3 separate regions of the Homo sapiens genome follow, and all the other regions are linked to region 3. The links are contacts of gene promoters, found by promoter capture Hi-C in human tissues and cell types (Jung and others, 2019). All regions are on one chromosome and are shown on one strand. Each heading gives the region's core, a stretch centred on a gene start or on the middle of the fragment in contact. The rest is flanking DNA. Distances are from core to core; before and after follow the strand shown.

Region 1 (4,422 bases), core at 977-3,476, 160 kb before region 3:
CCACCACTATGCCCGGCTAATTTTTTGTATTTTTAATAGAGATGGAGTTTCACCGCGTTAGCCAGGATGGTCTCGATCTCCTGACCTCATGATCCGCCCGCCTTAGACTCCCAAAGTGCTGGAATTACAGGCGTGAGCCACCACGCCCGGTCTCCAGTTTTCTTTTAAGAAGTCCCGGCCGGGCACAGTGGCTCACGCCTGTAATCCCAGCACTTTGGGAGGCTGGGGCAGGTGGAGCACCTGAGGTCAGGAGTTCGAGACCAGCCTGACTTACATGGTAAAACCCCATCTCTACTAAACACAAAAAATTAGCCAGGTGTGGTGGCGCACACCTGTAGTCCCAGCTACTTGGGAGGCTGAGGCAGGAGAATCACTTGAACCTGGGAGGTGGAAGTTGCAGTGAGCTGAGATTGTGCTATTGCACTCCAGTCTGGGCAATACGAGTGGAACTCCATCTCAAAAATAAAGAAAATTAAAAAGCAATCCCGTAACCAGGAGAGGTGACTAATGTCTGCAGTCTCAGTGCTTTAGGAAGCTGAGGCAGGAGGGGCGCCTCAGGCCAGGAGTTCGAGACCAGCTTGGGCAACCTAGCAAGATCGCATCTCTACCTCCCCGCCCACCAAAAAAAATACAAAAAATAATCAGGCATGGCTGGGCATGGTGGCTCATGCTTGTAATCCTAGCACTTTGGGAGGCCGAAGTGGGTGGATCACTTGAGGTCAGGAGTTGGAGACTAGCCTGGCCAACATGGTGAAACCCCATCTCTACTAAAAATATGAAAATTAGTCGGGCATGGTGGTGGGCACCTATAATCCCAGCTACTCGGGAGCCTGAGGCAGGAGAATCGCTTGAACCCGGTGGGATGGAGGTTGCAGTGAGCCGAGATCAAGACCCTGCACTCCAGCCTGGGTGATAGAGTGAAACTCTGTCTTAAAAAAAAAAAAAAAAAAAAATAGCCGTGGTGGCTACCTGGGAGGCTGAGGCAGGAGGATCACGAGCACAGCAGTTCAAGGCTGCAGTGAGCCATCATCACACCATTGCAACCCCAGCCTGGGAGACAAAAAAAGAAAAAATCCCAGGAGCTTCGGGGACAGGCTGGAAGGCTGGTCCTGAGAAAGTGCAGGGACTGGCCAGGATGGCCTGAAGACCCCCAGACCCTGAACCCCATACTGACTTAAGGGGAAGAATCCTTTGGGATTGGGGAGGCAGGCTGGGGACTCAGGTCTTCATCCTCCTTGCTGTCTGCCAGACCAATTTCCACCATGTCCCAGCTCTGAGGAGTGGGGTGGGTCAAGGCCAGCCCTCCATGGCCTGGTCTTTCTCCTCACCCCTGAAGCCAGCCTCCCAGGTATGGAAGTCCCAGGTGATATCCACAGCCATCCCTTGGAAGCTGGTTTTACCTCCATGATCCCTCTCCCTTCTATCCTCATCTCGCCAGCCCCAGGGTCCCCTAGCCCACCCCCTACTCTCCCCAACCTGCCCTTACCCCAAGACTGAAAACAGAAAACAGTCTCTTCTTCCTCTTTTTATTTTATTTATTTTTTTTTTTTTGGAGACAGAGTCTCGCCGGAGTGCAATGGCAGTGCCAGGCTGGAGTGCAATGGTACACTCTCAGCTCTCACTGCAACCTCCGCCTTCTGGGTTCACATGATTCTCCTGCCTCAGCCTCCAAGTAGCTGGGATTACAGGCGCCTGCCACCACCCCGGCTAACTTTTTGTATTTTTAGTAGCGATGAGGTTTCAACATGTTGGTCAGGCTGGTCTCGAACTCCTGACCTCAGGTGATCGACCCACCTTGGCCTCCCAAAGTACTGGGATTACAAGTGTGAGCCACCACGCCCTGCCAGGGTCTCTTCTGATTGTTCCCCTCTCCTGCCCGGCACCCTTCAGTGGCTTCCCATGGCCCTCTGGATGAAGATCCTGTTCTCCCAGTAGCCCACAAGGCCCTACCTTGAACCTCTCGGTCCCCTCCCAGAACAACACTCACTGTCTCCCTCATCCTCCTGGATATACAGACATCCTGTGAGCAAGAACCCAGGGACCTCCTTCACGCAGTCCACCTTGTCTCAATCCTTACCTCCTCCTCCTTTCTCCATTCTCTGAATCCACTTCGGGGTTCCCCCTCACCTCCTCATCCTGGTATCTGCAGCCGAGACACCAGTAACCCCTGGGCGGGGCCCCCAGACCCCACTCCTCCGTCACTGCCCTCCCACCTTCTCCTTGCCCCCCGCCACCCTCCTTGTTGTCTTCCTCAGATTTTTTTTTTTTTTTTTTTTTTGGAAGATGGAGTCTCGCACTGTCACCCAGGCTGGAGTGCAGTGGCACCATCTCAGCTCACTGCAGCCTCCGCCTCCCAGGTTCACACCATTCTCCTGCCTGAGCCTCCCAAGTAGCTGGGATTACAGGTGCCCTCCACCATGCCTGGCTAATTTTTTGTATTTTTAGTAGAGATGGGGTTTCAGCATGTTGGCGAGGCTGGTCTCGAACTCTTGACCTCATGATCCGCCCGCCTCGGCCTCCCAAAGTGCTGGGATTACAGGCGTGATCCACCGCACCTATCTTCCTTGGACTTTTCATCCACCAACGTGTCCACCTCAGGCTCTGAGTCAAAGCCATCCAGGTAGACAAGCCAAGGGCCACCTGCCCCACACCTGCTCAGTGCCATGTCACCTCAAAGATGGACAGCTCTGGGCTCCAGAAGCCCTTCAGCCACTGCAAGGGGCAGGAGGGGATCCTCAGGCCCTTGGGACCCGTCTGTCTGCCCCACTGCCCACCGCCTCACCAGGGGCCTGAAGACTGCTCTGTCCTTGATGGGGCTGTGATGTGACGGGGCAGCAGCCTCAGCTGACGTGGCTTGGGCTGGGTGTCCACTCTCCCAGAACCTGTAGGCCCCAGCTGAGGTGGTTGTCAGGATGGGGTAGGACAGGCCATCAGGAGGCCCCCTAAGCTCCCCCTTCTCAGCCAGAAGCCTTGAAACCACCACTGTGGGACCCTGGAAAAGAGTCGACTTCCCTGCCTCCCAATTCCCTCGTCCTTAAAAGGGTGTCATGATGACTGGTGAGTCCTTTGGGGTGGACGCGAGGATGAAAAGAGAGGCTGCAGGGAGAGGAGGGGCTTGGGAAATGTCTGCTGAGAACTTCACGTCCCGAGCCCATGGCTGCCTGGGACTCTCTCGACCTGGGGAGGAGGGTGGGACAGGGTGAAGGGGCCCATTTTACAGATATATAGAGAAGGTGAGGCTAGGAGGCCTCTAGCCAGCCCCAGTTCCCAGTCAGCGGCACTGATTCTGCACCATCTTGGGAGCTGCGCACGGTTACCACGAGAAGAGAAAACCCTGCCAGCAGGTCCAGAGGACACGCCCCTGTTCCCGCATTCTGCAGGTCCCTAGATCTGGCTGTAGTCCAAGCCTCTCCCCCATCTCCAGGGACAGCGCTGTGTTCTCTGTCCCCCAGGCCCCTAACCCCTCTCCAGGGTCCCGGGGGCCCCCAGGAGTCTTTGTCCCCATCAGTTTCTTTATTCGGCCACCCCCAGATCTAGGCCACGCCTCTTCCCAGTCTGTCAGTATCTTTCCAGAGAAACCTAGAGCCAACACGTCCGTCCAGGGACCTCTCCCCTACCCCATCACCCACGGAGATGGGACAGCCCTTCCTGTGTGTACAGCGGGCCCACGGCCACCACACTACCCTCTGGAGTGAACTGACTGCCGCGAGGCCTGGGGAGCTGGCTCACCACCTGTCCTCCACCGTTCACCCTGTCCACTGCAGAAACGACCTCCTACCCTCAAGCCGGCCCCCAACCCCCATGCACAGGAGCCCAGCCCTCTTGGGCCCCGGCTCCGCCCAGCAGGGGGCGCCCAGGAATCTCAGACTCGGGGGAATGAAAGCCGGGAGAGCAGTGGGGATAGCGGGCAGGTTGGCTGGAAGCCGCGGGCTCGCGCTGAACAGCTCTGAGGCCGGCCAGAGGCCCGTGCCCGGCATTTGTCCAGCCCCAGCTGTCACTTGCAGGTGCCGGTCCGGTTACCCTCATTGCGGGCCAGGAGCGGGGAGGTGGAGGGCGCCCTGCGGCCCTGGGATCCGCCGCCCACGTGCTCCCCGGGCTCCTCCCCCTGCACACCGTTGTTCGCGTTTCCGACCCCGCAGATTCCCCAAGGCGCGCCCTAACGAACTCTCACTCCCCTGGTCCGGGCTCCCTTCTCCGGGATTCCGGTAACCCTATCTGTCCCTGTCTGCAGCCGCGCCGCGCGGAACCCTGCCGGGAGCCCCTACGGAGGCGCCAAATACACAAAGGGTAGTTGGCGGGGAGGCGCACCATGACTACAGCTCCGGGACCTGCGCTTCACCCCCACGGCGCCCCCGTGGGGCCTTGGTGCGCGCGCCCTGGCTGGACCCTCCTAGCTGCGAGAGTGCACGGGTAGTGACCAGC
Region 2 (4,137 bases), core at 115-2,614, 140 kb after region 3:
TTACAGGCAAGCGCCACCACACCTGGCTAATTTTTTTTGTATTTTTAGTAGAGACGGGGTTTCTCCATGTTGGTCAGGCTGGTGTTGAACTCCCAACCTCAGGTGATCCACCCGCCTCGGCCTCCCAAAGTGTTGGGATTACAGGCAGGAGCAACCGCGCCTGGCCGATATATGGTCTTTTATCCCTCACCTCCCTCCCCACCCTTTCCCTCTGAATTCCTGTTTTCTTTCTTTCCTTCTTTTTGTCCTTCCTTCCTGCCTTCCTTCCCTCTCTATCTCCCTCTTTCTTGCTTGCTTTTTTTTTTTTTTTGAGACGGAGTCTCACTCTGTCGCCAGGCTGGAGTGCAGTGGCGTGATCTCGGCTCACTGCAAGCTCTGCCTCCCAGGTTCACGCCATTCTCCTGCCTCAGCCTCCCGAGTAGCTGGGACTACAGGCGTCCACCACCACGCCCAGCTAATTGTTTGTATTTTTAGTAGAGACGGAGTTTCACTGTGTTAGCCAGGATGGTCTCGATCTCCTGACCTTGTGATCCACCCACCTCCGCCTCCCAAAGTGCTGGGATTACTGGTGTGAGCCGCCGCGCCCGGCCTCTTTTTTTGAGACAGGATCTCCCTCTGTCACCCAGGCTGGAGGGCAGTGGCACAATCATAGCTCACAGAAGCCTCCACAACTCCTGGGCTCAAGTGATCCTCCTGCCTCAGCCTCTAGAATAGCTGGGACTACAGGCATGCACCACTACACCTAGCTCATTTATGTATTTATTTATTTTCTGTAGAGATGGGGGTCTCCTTCCTGCCTTTTTCTTTCTTGGGAAACTGAGTGTTTTACTTTGTGTTGCTTGGTAACAGCTTTAGAGATATAATTTTCATACCATCCAGTTTGCCTATTTCAAGTTTTCAAGTCGAAGGTTTTTGATCCATTCACAGAGTTCAGCAGTTCTCACCATCTTGTTCTTCTTTTATTTGACAAATATTAATTGTATATACTTACCAGGTACAGTGTGATCTTTTGATATATGCATACTTTGGGAACCACTTTGCTCTTTTTCTGTTTCGTTTTGTTTTTCTTTTTCTTTTCTTTCAGAGATAGGGTCTCATTCTTTCGCCCAGGCTGGAGTGCAGTGGTGTGATCATAGCTCACTGCAGCCTCGACCTCCTGGGCTCAAGTGATCCTCCCACCTCAGCCTCCTGGGTAGCTGGGACTACAGTGTGCACTATCATGGCCAGCTAATTTTTTAAAGTTTTGTAGAGATGGGGTCTCACTGTGTTGCCCAGGCTGGTCTCAAACCTGTGGCCTCAAGTGAGCCTCCCACTTTGGCCTCCCAAAGTGCTGTGATTACAGGTGGGAGGCAGTGCACCTGTCCCCATATTGTTCTTTTTAGCGGCTACATAGGATGCCACGGTTGAGCCAGACTTTGCTTATCAGTTTCCTATTGATGGACTAGGCGATTTTCGTTGTTTGTTGTTGTTGTTTGGTTGCATTTTTGGAGACAGAGTCTTGCTCTTGTCACCCAGGCTGGAGTGCAGTGGCACGATCTCGGCTCACTGCAACCTCTGCCTCCCCAGTTCAAGTAATTCTCCCGACTCAGCCTCCCCAGTAGGTGGGATCATAGGTGCCTGCCACCAAGCCCGGCTAATTATTGTGGTTTTAGTAGAGACGGGGTTTTGCCATGTTGGTCAGGCTGGTCTCGAACTCCTGACCTCAGATGGTCTGTCCGCCTCAGCCTCCCAAAATGCTGGGATTACAGACCTGAGCCACCACGCCTGGTCTAGGCGGTTGTTTTTGATCCAAGCAACGATGAATTGAATAACCTGCCGTAGAGGTCATATGTCAACCCAGCATGAAGAGATCTCATCAGTAAATTCCTAGAAGTGGAATTACTTGTCAAAGGGTGTGAGCAGGTGTATCGTGGATAACTATTGCCAAAGGTTTCTCCACAAAGGACTCATCCTCCACATGTTATCAAACATTCTAATCTTTGCTAACTGAGAGGTTTAAAAGTATGTAGTTCTCATTTGCATTTTTATTTTTTATTTTATTTATTTATTTATTTTTTTGAGACGAAGTCTCTCTCTTGTCCCCCAGGCTGGGGTGCAATGGCGTGATCTCGGCTCGCTGCAACCTCCACCTGCCTGGTTCAAGCGATTCTCCTGCCTCAGCCTCCCAAGTAGCTGGCACCACAGGCGCCTGCCACCATGCCCGGATAATTTTTATATTTTTAGTAGAGACGGGGTTTCACCATGTTGGCCAGGATGGTCTTGAACTCCTGACCTCAGGTGATCTGCCCACCTCGGTCTTCCAAACTGCTGGGATTACAGGCATGAGCCACCGCGCCTGGCCTGCATTTTTATTATTTCGAGTGAGGTTGAACATCTCTGTGTTTAAAAACTGGATCTCAGAGCCAGGCACGGTGGCTCATGCCTGTAATTCCAGCACTTTGGGAGGTCAAGGCCAGAGGATGGCTTAAGGTCAGGAGTTTGAGATGAGCCTGGGAAATAGTTAGGTTCTGTCTTTCTTTTTTTTGGAGACGGAGTCTCGCACTCTCGTCCAGGCTGCTGGAGAGCAGTGGCGCGATCTCAGCTCACTGCAAGCTCCGCCTCCCAGGTTCACGCCATTCTCCTGCCTCAGCGTCCCGAGTAGCTGGGACTACAGGCGCCTGCCACCACACCCAGCTACTTTTTTGTATTTTTTTTTTTTAGTAGAGACGGGGTTTCACCGTGTTAGCCAAGATGGTCTCGATCTCCTGACCTTGTGATCCACCTGCCTCAGCCTCCCAAAGCGCTGGGATTACAGGTGTGAGCCACTGTGCCCAGCCTGGTTCTGTCTTTCTATATACACATTTGTAAGTGGATCTTGTCCAGACGTGGTGGCTCATGCCTGTAGTCTCAGCTACTCAGGAGGCTCAGGGAGGACGATCACTTGAGTCAGGAGTTTGCAGCTGCAGTGAGCTATGATTGCACCAGTGCCCTCTAGACTGGGCAACAGAGCAAGACACTGTCTCTAAAGTAAAACTTTTTTTTTTTTTTGAGATGGAGTCTTGCTCTGTCACCCAGGCTGGAGTGCAATGGTGTGATCTCAGTTTACTGCAACCTCCACCTGCCGGGTTCAAGAGATTCTCCTGCCTCAGCCTCCCAAGTAGCTGGGATTACGGGTGCCCGCCACCATGCTTAGCTAATTTTTTCTATTTTTAGTAGAGACAGGGATTTACCATGTTGGCCAGGCTAGTCTCGAACTCCTGACCTCGGGTGATTCACCCGCCTCAGCCTCCCATGAGCCACCATGTCTGGCCTTTAAAATAAAACATTTTTAAACGTGGACCTCTAGTCTTTCCCTGGAAACGTTTTTTTTTTGTTTGTTTGTTTGTTTTTCTGCAGGCGACAGCCTTTTTGTTATTGATTTATAGAGCCTCTTTACTTTTACTGTGGTAAAATATATATAGAAGCTCTTTTTAGTATTAAAGAAATTACTTCTTATTCTGTGAGCTTCAATCTTCTTCCTCCATTTTTTTTTTTTGTTGTTGTTGTTTTTTGAGATGGAGTCTTGCTCTGTCACCCAGGCTGGAGTGCAGTGGTGTGATCTTGGCTCATTGCAGCCTCTGCCTCCTGGATTCAAGAGATTCTCCTGCTTCAGCCTCCCGAGTAGCTGAGATTATAGGCGTGCACCACCATGCCCAGCTAATTTTTGCATTTTTAGTAGAGACAGAGTTCACCATTTTGGTCAGGGTGGTTTCGAACTCCTGACCTCAGGTGATCCACCTGCCTCAGCCTCCCAAAGTGCTGGGATTACAGGCTTGGGCCACCATGCCCAGCCCTTTGGTGACTTTTATGTTTATTTTATTCTTAGAAAGGCCTTTCCTGTGCATTCAGTTGTACATCAGCCCCCGACCTACCCCAAAAAAAGCCTTTGCGGCTAAGCCCCATGGCTCATACCTGTAATCCCAGCACTCTGGGAGGCTGTGGGAGCATTGCTTGAGACCAGGAGTTCAATGCTGGAGTGAGCTGTGAGCTGTGATTGTACCACTGCACTCCAGCCTGGGTGACAGAGTGAGACTCTTGTCTGAAGAAAAATAAAAATTAAAAATAATTTGAGGCCGGGTGCGGTGGCTCATGCCTGTAATCCCAGCACTTTGGGAAGCT
Region 3 (4,582 bases), core at 513-3,012:
GGAGGCGGAGTTTGTAGTGAGCTGAGATATTGTGCCACAGCACTCTACCCTGGGCAACAGAATGAGACCCTGACTCAAAAAAGAAAAAGAAAACATTATTTCAGCAAACATTTATTAAGCATCTACTGTGTACTAGGGTCGCTGGATAAAGCAGTTATCAAAACCAGTTTCCTGTTCCCATGGTGCTGACACTTAATTTAGAGACAGAGTCTCACTCTGTTGCCCAGGCTGGTCTTGAGCTGCTGGGCTCAAAAGATCCTCCCACCTCAGCCTCAGGAGGTGCTAGGATTACAGGCATGAGCCACCCCACCTGGCCTTGGTGCCGACACTTTAGTGAGATGGCAAGCAGGTAAACCAATAAATAACCAGCCAGGCATGGTGGCTCACGCCTGTAATCCCAGCACTTTGGGAGGCTGAGGTGGGCGGATCACCTGAGGTCAGGAGTTCGAGACCAGCCTGGGCAACATGGTGAAACCCTGTCTCTACTAAAAATACAAAAATTAGCTGGGCGTGGTGGTGTGCGCCTGTAATCCCAGCTACTTAGAAGGCTGAGGCAGGAGAATCGCTTGAACCCCAGGAGGCAGAGGTTGCAGTGAGCCAAGATCGCACCACTGCACTCCAGCCTGGGACAGAGCGAGACTCTGTCTAAAAAAAAATTAAATTAAATTAAAAAATAAACCAAATAAATAACTGAGTGTTTCGTTTTTGTCTTTTTGTTTTGTTGTTTTCTTTTGTTTTGAGAACTAGGTCTTGCTATGTTGCCCAGGCTGGTCTCAACTCCTGGCTCAAGCTATCCTCCCATCTATGCCTCCCTAAATACTGGATTTACAGGCGTGAGTCACTGCGCCTGCCAATAACAGAGTCTGCTTTTTTTTTTTTTTCCAGATAGTAAAAGTAGCTATTAGGTTAATACAATAGAGTGATGAGAAAAATACTAACTGGGGAGGGGCTATGTCAGGAATTTAGGGGGCAGCAACACAAAAGCTGAACCTCAGAAAGTAGGGAAGGCCGGGCGCGGTGGCTCACGCCTGTAATCCCAACACTTTGGGAGGCTGAGGCGGGCGGATCACTTGAGGTCAGGAGTTCCAGACCAGCCCGGCCAACATGGTGAAACCCCATCTCTACTAAAAATACAAATATTAGCTGGACGTGGTGGTGTGTGTCTGTAATCCCAGCTACTCGGGAGGCTGAGGCAGGAGAATTGCTTGAACCCAGGAGGCGGAGGTTGCAGTGAGTGTCACTGCACTCCAGCCTGGGACTCCGTCTCAAAAAACAAAAACAAAACAAAACAAAAAACAGTAGGGGAGCCTCAAAAAGTACCTACGTGTACAGGTGCAAGGGAAAGCATTTCAGGTAGGTGGAACAGCATGTGCAGAGGCCCTGCGGTGGGGAAGATCCGGGACCTGATACTTCACCCAGGCACTGCGAAATAAGTGCCAGTTATAGAAATCCCACCGGGTTACTCTTCTACTCATAGTTCTCCCATGGCTCCCTCGTGCCTGTGGATCAAATCCAAGCTCCTTGGCCCGGCGCTGGGCAGAGACTTGACCTCTGCTGGTGCAGAAATGCCGCCAGCCAGCGCTCGGCGACCGTCACTCCAGGGCCCGCCCTCAGTCACCACCCCTACATTCCAGGCCCCGCCTGCCTGTCCCACCCCACCGTCCCACTGGGCGGCTTGGAGAGCCTCGGGTGCTGGTTGGCTGGCGTGGCCGTCAGTTAGGGCGAAGGCCTTGATAATCAGTCCCCGGACTTCGAGGGGGCGGGCTCGGGTGCGGGCGCGGCTGGGGCTGCGGCTTCAGGTAAATTGCCAGCTTGCGGGGACACGGATGGGGGACCCCTGGGTGGGTGGATTCGGGGACGCACCGGGACCCGGCGCTGCGCTGCGTTTCCAGCCCCACTGAGGGCTCTGCCCGCTGCGACGGGGCGGGCGTCGTGTCCTCTGGCCGGGACCCCTCCCACATTGGAAGTCCCAGGTGGGTAGCGAGCAGAGTGGGGGGCTCTGGAGGCGTGGGCTTGCCCCCCTCTCGCCCTTCGGGAGCTCACTGCGGGGCTCGTTCGCTCCCTAATGCCACAACCGGCCCTGGGACCCTTTCCCGGGACGGCCTGGGGACCCCAGCCAGCCCCTCGCGCTGGGCTGGGTGTGGGAGCGTGTCACGGAAATGGTGTTTTGGGGAGGGACGCACGGCCCCCGGACCCGCAGACAATGGGTAGCGGATGGAACCGCCCGGCGGCGCTTCCTGTAGGAAACTGCTCTGTCTCTGTGCGGCTAGGACGACCTGGGGGTGGACGGGTGATGATGACTTTAACACCCACCTTCCTGCCGCCACCGGTCCCCCACCCACCCACCTCAAGAGTCTGAGAGTCCCAGCAGACATCAGGGGCTGCCAGTACTCAGGGCCTCCTGGAAGGCGCCCTCTCCCCAGGACTGGGATCCTCACTGGCCTGCCGTGGCCCCCACCACTCCGGTTTGGTGATCACAGCTCTGCGTCCCAAAATAGTCCCTGGGGCGGGAGAGGGGGCGTGTGGCGTCGGCTCTGACGGCCTAATGAGGGGGTCTCAGGCACAGAATCCGGATCTAGCTGTGACAGTCAGGGCAGGGAGCGGAGGAGAGGGAAGGCAGCTAAACGCCCCACTTAGTGAGGCCCCAGCCCCTGAAGCCGCAGAGGTGGTGGGCACCTCCGCCCCCAATCAGAGTCTGACACAGGTGTAGGCTGGGAGGGACAAGCCCCCTGAGGCTCCTTGGTGGTTCATGCCTGTTATCCCAGCACTTTGGGAGGTCAAGTAGGGCTGATCTCTTGAGGTCAGGAGTTTGAGACCAGACTGACCAACATGATGAAACCCGTCTCTACTAAAAATTCAAAAATTAGCCAGCTGTGGTGGCAAGTGCCTGTAATCCCAGCTACTCAGGATGCTGAGGCAGGAGAGTCGCTTGAACCCTGGGCTCAGAGGTTGCAGTGAGCCGAGATCCTGCCACTGCACTCCAGCCTGGGTGACAGAGACTCCGTCTCAAAAATAAAAATAAAAGAAAGCATTCAAGTGTAGTGGCCAAAGCAAGGACTCTGGAAGACCTGCCTGGGTTTAAAACCTGCCTCTGCCTGTTTATGACAGGACCCAGGCAGGACACTAAACTGTTCTGTGTCTCAGTTTCTCCATCTGTACAATAGGGGAAGGGACAATGATCATAGGAAATCCAACCTCAGTGGATTTAGCTAGGATTTTAAAAAATAAGTCAAGGTCAGGTGCAGTAGCTCATGCTTGTAATCCCAGCACTCTGGGAGGCTGAACTGGGAAGATTGCTTGAGCCCAGGAGTTGGAGGCCAGCCTGGGCAATATAGCAAGACACCTGTATCTACAAAAAATAAAATTAGGCCGGGCACGGCTCACGCCTGGTTTGAGACCAGCCTGGCCAACATGGTGAAACTCCGTCTCTACTAAAAATACAAAAATTAGCCAGGCATGGTGGTGCACACCTGTAATCCCAGCTGCTTGGGAGGCTGAGGCAGGAGAATCACTTGAACCCGGGAGGCGGAGATTGCAGTGAGCTGAGATTGTGCCACTGCACTCCAGCCTGGGCGACAGAGCATGACTCCATCTAAAACAAAAAACCAAAAAATTTAAAATATTAGCCTGAATTAGCCAGGTGTAGAGGTCCATTCCTGTAGTCTCAGCTATTTGTGAGGCTGAGGCGGATCACTTGAGCTCAGGGGTTCAAGGCCACAGTGAGCTATGATCGAGCCACTGACTCCAGCCTGGGTGACAGAGTGAGCGAGACATTGCCTCTAAAAAAAAAAAAAAAAAAAGTAAATATCCATAAATTCCTTAGACTAGAGGCTGGCCCATAGTAAATATCAAAAGCGTTGTTATTATTTGACATTCTGGAGGGATCCATTCCTTTCTTAGCCCAGCCTCTGGATCCAACTGCTTCAGCTAGTTTAGGTCTTAGGAATGGCCCACAGCTGTCTTCTGAGATCCCAGGGCCTGGGATTTGGGTGTGACCAGGTCACCGGAGGAGGACGCTGACCCCATTGCGTCATACGGCCAGCTGTGTGAGAAGTAGACCCAGACCCCCCAACCCTTGATCTGGACTTTTTCCACAACCCAGTTCTTCCCTGGCAATTTCCTGAAAACAAGTGATGAACGGCATTGGCTGTCCTCTGCGATGACCCGCTGGCCTGTTGATCCACCCCTTGCAGCTGGTGTGAAGGGACGGGAAACAGCTGCTTGGGGACTGGAAGAGGCCCCCTGCCTGGCCTTGGAGTGGGAAGGGAGAGGTCAGGGACCTCGGCCAGACAGAAGTGGGAAATGGAGTTACGGTTTCCCCAGCGGTGGAGTAGGGTAATGAGTCAGGAGGGCTGGTGGGTGCTCAGTGCTTCATAGCATCAGGCACACAGGTGGTCCCAGGGATTCGAGAAGCCAGAAGGGGTGGCTGGGAGTGTTGCCATGTGGTTAGCACAGACGGGCCGTGGCCCAGGGAGAGGATGAAGTGGGTTTGGCAGATGCCTGTCAGTGGAGGACTGGACAGGTAAAGGGCAGTCAGAAGCTGTGGCAGGGACCTGCTGACAAGGGTTCCGCAGATGGGCAG

The links. The method cuts DNA at HindIII sites, captures the fragments that hold promoters and counts their contacts. A contact is called where the count stands out against the background at its distance.
Region 1: a contact is called between a fragment that was not itself captured here and the fragment with the promoter of KANK3 in region 3, in 1 of the 25 tissues and cell types used here (spleen).
Region 2: a contact is called between a fragment that was not itself captured here and the fragment with the promoter of KANK3 in region 3, in 1 of the 25 tissues and cell types used here (pancreas).

Annotation. Positions count from the first base shown.
Region 1 is chr19:8,505,739-8,510,160 of GRCh38, reverse strand. It overlaps ZNF414 (zinc finger protein 414), which reads left to right. Exons shown (of 8, transcript NM_001146175.2): 8 at 1-483. Among named protein-coding and RNA genes, the nearest start is that of PRAM1, 5.3 kb to the right of the region's middle. RefSeq lists enhancers at 3,230-3,816, 3,856-4,356 and silencers at 3,900-4,159, 4,270-4,369, 4,390-4,422. The HindIII fragment of the contact is 8,917 bases long and covers 1-4,422 here.
Region 2 is chr19:8,198,442-8,202,578 of GRCh38, reverse strand. No RefSeq gene overlaps it. Among named protein-coding and RNA genes, the nearest start is that of CERS4, 8.9 kb to the left of the region's middle. The HindIII fragment of the contact is 7,247 bases long and covers 1-4,137 here.
Region 3 is chr19:8,340,442-8,345,023 of GRCh38, reverse strand. It overlaps KANK3 (KN motif and ankyrin repeat domains 3), which reads left to right and starts at 1,762. Exons shown (of 11, transcript NM_198471.3): 1 at 1,762-1,799. RefSeq lists enhancers at 1,528-2,319, 4,254-4,582. The HindIII fragment of the contact is 26,102 bases long and covers 1-4,582 here.